Linked DNA regions of Homo sapiens: region 1 is linked to region 2. The links are contacts of gene promoters, found by promoter capture Hi-C in blood cells and fetal thymus (Javierre and others, 2016). All regions are on one chromosome and are shown on one strand. The core of a region is centred on a gene start or on the middle of the fragment in contact, and the rest is flanking DNA. Distances in the headings are between cores, read along the strand shown.

Region 1 (3,240 bases), core at 98-2,597, 480 kb after region 2:
ATTCCCCTTATGCTACCTGGCAAACACTAGTTGTTTTGTAGCCATGTCAGAATTTTTTGGCTCATGTTGGGCTTTTTGTTAACTACAATCTTCAAGACTTTTTCCCATTAACTATTGTCAATAATTTGAATAACTGAGTTTTTTTTTTTTTAATCAATATGAAGAACTTGCATTTTCTCCATTAAATTCCATCATGCTTATTTTGGCTCCTTGTTCAGGCAAACCACCATATCCTGTTTCTGTCATGCGGCATATTACTTAGACTTCTTCATTTTGTGTCAACTCATATTTATATGTTGGCATCTCTTTCATGTCATTGAAAGGATTTTCACAGAACCGGGCACCAAACAAGGACTAGCGGCATCTTGTGCTACACCTCTCTCTGAGTTGACTTGGCCCCGCCTGTCCAGTGCTTTTTGGATACAATGGTTTGCCTAGCTGTGCCTTCACCAAGCCATAGATCACCCAGGCCCTATCCATTCATTGTACCATAAAATGTGTTGTCGGAAGCCCTGTTGAAAGATTCACTACCTCTGGGACAATCTTGAGAGTTTTGGTAATCTTTCAAAAAAGAAAAAAATGTGAAGTGATGTTAGTATGACATGGTTTGTTCTACATAACCTGTGCTGGCTTCTTGAGATTACCACTTCCTTTTCAAAGCGATTGTAATCTAACTCCTTAATAATGCAGCTTACAGTTTGCTGGGGATCAAAGTTAAACTCAACAGTGCAAAGTTCCCCAAACCTACATATTTCCCCTTTTGACAACTCGGACAGTTGCCCATCACTAATCTTCTGGCATCACTCCTGAGATTCCTGAAAGATTACTGACAATCATTCTATGATTAAATCTACAAATTCTTTCAGTCCCCAGGGATGGAATTTGTCAGGGCCTGGAGATCTAAGCTTATTTAGAGAGCCCAGGTATTCATTTTCTAAAGAGCTTCATAACTAGGGCTGCAATTGCTTCTTTGCAGTGTTTATATTGTTCTTTCCAGTTTGAAGATCATTCTGAGAGATAGAGATGATGGAAGCTAAGTAGGAGTTGCATAATTCTGCTTTGTATCTGTCATCTGCTAGCATTACACCATCTGCCCCAAGCACAGGATCTGGCCCTTCCCTATTCTTCCTGCTCAGAATATACTTGCACAAAGCTCTTTTTGCTGTTCCTGAGCATTTTTTGCAAGTCTCAGCTCATTCTGAGCCCCAGCCTTGCTAACACTATGGCTACAAGCCTGTGACACTCTTTGCTTTTCTTCTCCGGTGATGTGCCCTGCTTAGTGCTTTTGTAAAGGCTCTTTGAAAACCTGAGAGTGCTGGAGGGCTTCCCCTGCTGGCTCGGGGTCTTCCCTTTGCTTCCTAGTCAGGATCACTGGAGACTGTATTGCCAGAATTTAATTTTGGAAAGAATGTTGCTTTAATGCTTCTTCTGTCCTCTCATTCTTTGAAAACAAAACAACAAAACAAAACAAAATAGTACAACAACAACAACCACCACAAAAATCACAGCTGCAAATGAGGTCTGATTAGAAACCAGTACAGTGTATTTAGGCTCATCATGGTAAAAAAAAATCTGACAAATGATAAAAAGCGTTGCTTAGTTTGCTTTAAATAAGAATGTGGAGGAACTGTTTTTTCTAGTTCATTGTGCAATGAGAAAAAAGGGAGGGAGCAGAGATCCAAAAAACAAGGACAATTAATATTGAGTAGCAACTACGTTCTTTCATTTAATCTTCATGTCAGTCCTGGAAGCACTGTCCTGATTTAGAGATGGAGAAAAATGAAGCTTAAGTTAAGTGACTTAGAGTAACTTTGTAAACCAGTGGGTAGAACCAAGGGTCAAACTCAGGCAGTGTGATTGGACTGCTCATGTGCTTTTTCCTACATTACGGGTATAGGTAAGCAGCTCACAAAACCATTCCACCCAAAGATGTGTTTTTTGGACCCTATGGCATTTAAAAAAATGTTTAGATTTATTGCCGACATTTATAACTTAGGAGATTTTACGTTCACTTCTAGAATCCTAGCTACTTTTGAGAACCTCTGGCCCTACATTTCCCCCATGGAAACCATTGGCCAAGTGGAGTAGTGGCGATCTGCCCTCTCCAGGTTGCCCCAATCCCCACCTTCCCCCTCATTTATATTCCCCGCTTGGTCCTGTTAGATGTTTGAGTTTGCACTGCCTTAGGCTATGCTGATACTCCATTGTTTTTCCTGGTTTCTGAGAGAAAGCCTTCTGCCATATGGAAAAGAAGGGAGCAAAGGTTATGAAAATCAAAGATATGTCTCTTGCACTCAATTCGGCCTTATTATTCCCCTGGAAAGGGCCTCCCAGAATCTTAAGAGGTTCCGAAAAAGAGTGTGCTTGTTTCACTCAGCTTGTCCCAGGATCCTCCATTCCCAATAATGGACTCCCTTTTGCACTGTGTTTCTTAAACCACAGAGTCTAACAAGAACATCATTCAACTTTTTAAAGCCTGTATGTATGGGCAAGAGAGCCTGTTCATATGACCTTCTAAATAGGACTCTTGGGCACGATCAGAATGTCTGGCTAAGCCTGCCTTCGTGGTTAGACACCACTAACAGACCATTGAAAATATGCACGTCGTAGATCATAGAGTGGACAGAACCTAGGCTGAGGATCAGGAAATCTGTTTTTTCATCTTGGTTCTGGTGTTAGAGGGATACCCAGTGCATAGAACATCACAGAAACACAGACCTCAAGGGGTAAGTCCAGAATGGGGGCTGGTAGTTAGAATGAAGACTATAGAGGGAATCTGAATATCATTTTGAAGGGAGAGATCCATCCATTCATTCAGTCACTCTGTGAATATGTATTTATTATGCACACACTACATGTCGGACACAGTTTAGGCAATGAGAATTCAGAATTGAACCAGACAGACAAAAATCCCTGCCATCATGGAACTTACATTTCAGTAAGGAGAGATAGACAAGTGAAAAAACCAAGTAAGTAAATATCTTTGGTCAACTGGTAATAAGACTGTGGGAAAAATCAAGCAGGGTAACTGATGGTTATGAAACTTTGAGGCTGGGAGAGGGGGGTATTTAAAGAAGGTAATCAAGGCCTCTTCACAGGGAAAGTGAAATTTCAATTCAGGCCTGAAGGAAGTAAGAAAGCAAGCCATGGGGATTTTTTGAAGAAAAGCATTCCAGGTGAAGGGAAGAACAAGTGCATAGACCCCGAGGTGGACTGTGCCCGGCATGTTTTAGGGCGAGC
Region 2 (2,772 bases), core at 39-2,538:
TGGAGTGCCTATCTCACAGAGTGGCAGTGAGGTTCAAATAAGCTAATAGATGTGAAAATGCTTTGTAAACTATAAAAAAAAACTGTACAAATGTAGGGTAACAAATGCCATCTCTTTCTGTCTATACCTGTAAGCTTGCACTCATTTTGTATTATAGTTACTTATTTTTATCTGCCTCCTGCATTAGATTTGAGCTCCTCAAGATAGGAATCACATCTTGCTGTCTCCTATATCAACCTGTACATGAGTCTAGCTTGATGCCTGTACATGGCATATACTCAGTACAGGGAAACTGGAAGAATAGCAAACTCCTTGTGTGTTTTTTCGGGTGTGTGTTCCAGTAGCTTGCTCCCCTTTAGACTGTATGTGCCAGGACTATTCCACCCGACATCAGGTGTAGCTTCCCAGAGGGCTCACTGTGAACAGCATCTGCAGGCAGGCATCCAACACCAAGCTGAGCACTCATGTACAGACACTAAATGTGGGGACACCCTGTCCTGAGGCTCGGATCCCCAGTGCTCAGCCAGCAGCTGTTCCAATCCCCATGAGGTCTCTGAATGAGTCTCCTTACTACTGGAGAGACTACTAGTTTAGTTGCCCTCGATAGTCCAAACTAGGGAAATTGAGAAATTGAACCTTGGCATATTCAGTGAAGTCCAGACTAAGGAAGCTGAGAAACTGAACCTTGGCATGTTCACTGACCTCAAGGCCTTACTTCTTTTTCTTCCATTTCAAAATCTTCCCAAAATGGCAACTTTGGCTTTTGTGCCCCTGCTCCTAGCTCCCATCTTTCATGAAGTGGGTGTTCTTAGAGGATGCCATCTGCCTGATGGTGTCATGTATCTCTATATCCTGCAAGCTACCCACCAAATCCTGCTCACAGATTAAGCACTGGATACATACTTGCTGATTGGAATTTAAAGAAAACCAAAATAAGTAAACTCGACAGGAGATTAATTGCCTAGGAGTCGGTTGACTGCTTGACTGAAGCTGGATTTTTTTTGGGAACCGCTGGCTGCCTTCACATTTCCTGATGGAAGTGGGACAGGTCAACAGACAGCCCAGAGTGGCAGATAACTTTTGCCCACACGTCATTCATTTTTTGGAGCGTTGGCTTGAAATTGAGGGGTGTGTGTGTCTGGAACCGACGTGCCTTCCGTGCGCCTCCGGGGTCTTTGCACTTTCTTTCAATGGGCTGATTACAACACAGAGGATGTGGACAGTGGAGTTTTTCCTGTTTGATGTCACACTGCTACCCTTTAAAAGTCTGACGGCAAAAAGGAGGGAATCCAGTCTAGGATCCTCACACCAGCTACTTGCAAGGGAGAAGGAAAAGGCCAGTAAGGCCTGGGCCAGGAGAGTCCCGACAGGAGTGTCAGGTTTCAATCTCAGCACCAGCCACTCAGAGCAGGGCACGATGTTGGGGGCCCGCCTCAGGCTCTGGGTCTGTGCCTTGTGCAGCGTCTGCAGCATGAGCGTCCTCAGAGCCTATCCCAATGCCTCCCCACTGCTCGGCTCCAGCTGGGGTGGCCTGATCCACCTGTACACAGCCACAGCCAGGAACAGCTACCACCTGCAGATCCACAAGAATGGCCATGTGGATGGCGCACCCCATCAGACCATCTACAGTGAGTAGGGCTTCAGGCTGGGAAGAAGGGGAGCACCCTTGTTGTCCATCTACAGGAGGCTTGGGGAGGTTGGGGACTAGACTGGAGGGCTAATCCAACCCTCCTAGCTTTCTGCCCAGGAACCACTTATTGTCTTTGTGTGTGTGTGTGTTTGTGTGTGTGTGTGTGTGCGTGTGTATTTAAAACTTAGGGGAAGATTCTGTCACTCTCCTAATTAGCATTTGCTGGTTTTTCTCAATATGAATAATTTTTATTTCAACTAAAACCCTTCCCACAGTAGGAGCCATGTTCCCTTTGCCCCGTCAAAAGATTGAAAAAATGTACAGAAAGAAAGGCAAGGAGTCTAAGAGAAAAAGAAGCCAGGCAGATCAACAGACACTAAGTTTCAGCTCATGGACTTTGGACTGGGTTAACTAGGGAGGTTGTAAAGATTCCTGGGTCATACCCAGATTGTTATAGATAAATCTGGGGGCTCTTTCCAACTCTGGCCTTATAAAAATTCTTGGAAAAATGTATTAAAGACAGACTGTCCATGTATGTTGTCTTGGTGAGAATGGCCAAGTATACAACCCATCCACCCATTCATTTGTCCATGCATCCATCCATCCATCCATCCATCCATCCATCCATCCATCCATCCATCCATCCAACAGGTTTAATGGGTGTTTCAGACACCCAGGTACCCAGGTACCCAGTATGAGTTGGTGATTCTTCTCTGTGGAACTGAAAGGTGTCCAGTCAGTAGCAAGTCAAGCTAGTTAGAAACTTATTGGCAACATGAGACAACTGGAATGTTTTTAAAGATCAGGTTTGTGGAGAATTGGATCACAATCCACAATAATCAATCCATTAGCAATGATTCAAATGAGGGTCCCTTTGTGTGCACCTATATAAGGGGTAATGTGGTGAAAGCAGGGATAGATATTGAAAAAGACTGGATCTTCTATTTTAAGAAAACGTGAGAAAACACCTCAAAGCATACAGAAAAATGCAAACTGATCCAATATAGCTCAAATTAAAGGAAAGAAAAATTAGTTAGACAATCTCTAACTAAAGAAAACATAGGAATTATGATTTGCCCTTTATTGTTGTAATAAATAAATTAATTATTTTTGCTGTGACCTTGCTGTGTGTGAGGCATTTA

The links. The method cuts DNA at HindIII sites, captures the fragments that hold promoters and counts their contacts. A CHiCAGO score of 5 or more calls a contact.
Region 1: a contact is called between a fragment that was not itself captured here and the fragment with the promoter of FGF23 in region 2, in 1 of 17 cell types (endothelial precursors). The highest score is 5.6, in endothelial precursors.

Annotation. Positions count from the first base shown.
Region 1 is chr12:3,894,919-3,898,158 of GRCh38, reverse strand. All of the region lies in intron 1 of PARP11-AS1 (PARP11 antisense RNA 1), which reads right to left. Among named protein-coding and RNA genes, the nearest start is that of PARP11, 23 kb to the right of the region's middle. The HindIII fragment of the contact is 880 bases long and covers 908-1,787 here.
Region 2 is chr12:4,378,228-4,380,999 of GRCh38, reverse strand. FGF23 (fibroblast growth factor 23) reads left to right here and starts at 1,288. Exons shown (of 3, transcript NM_020638.3): 1 at 1,288-1,628. The coding sequence starts at 1,418. The HindIII fragment of the contact is 6,643 bases long and covers 137-2,772 here.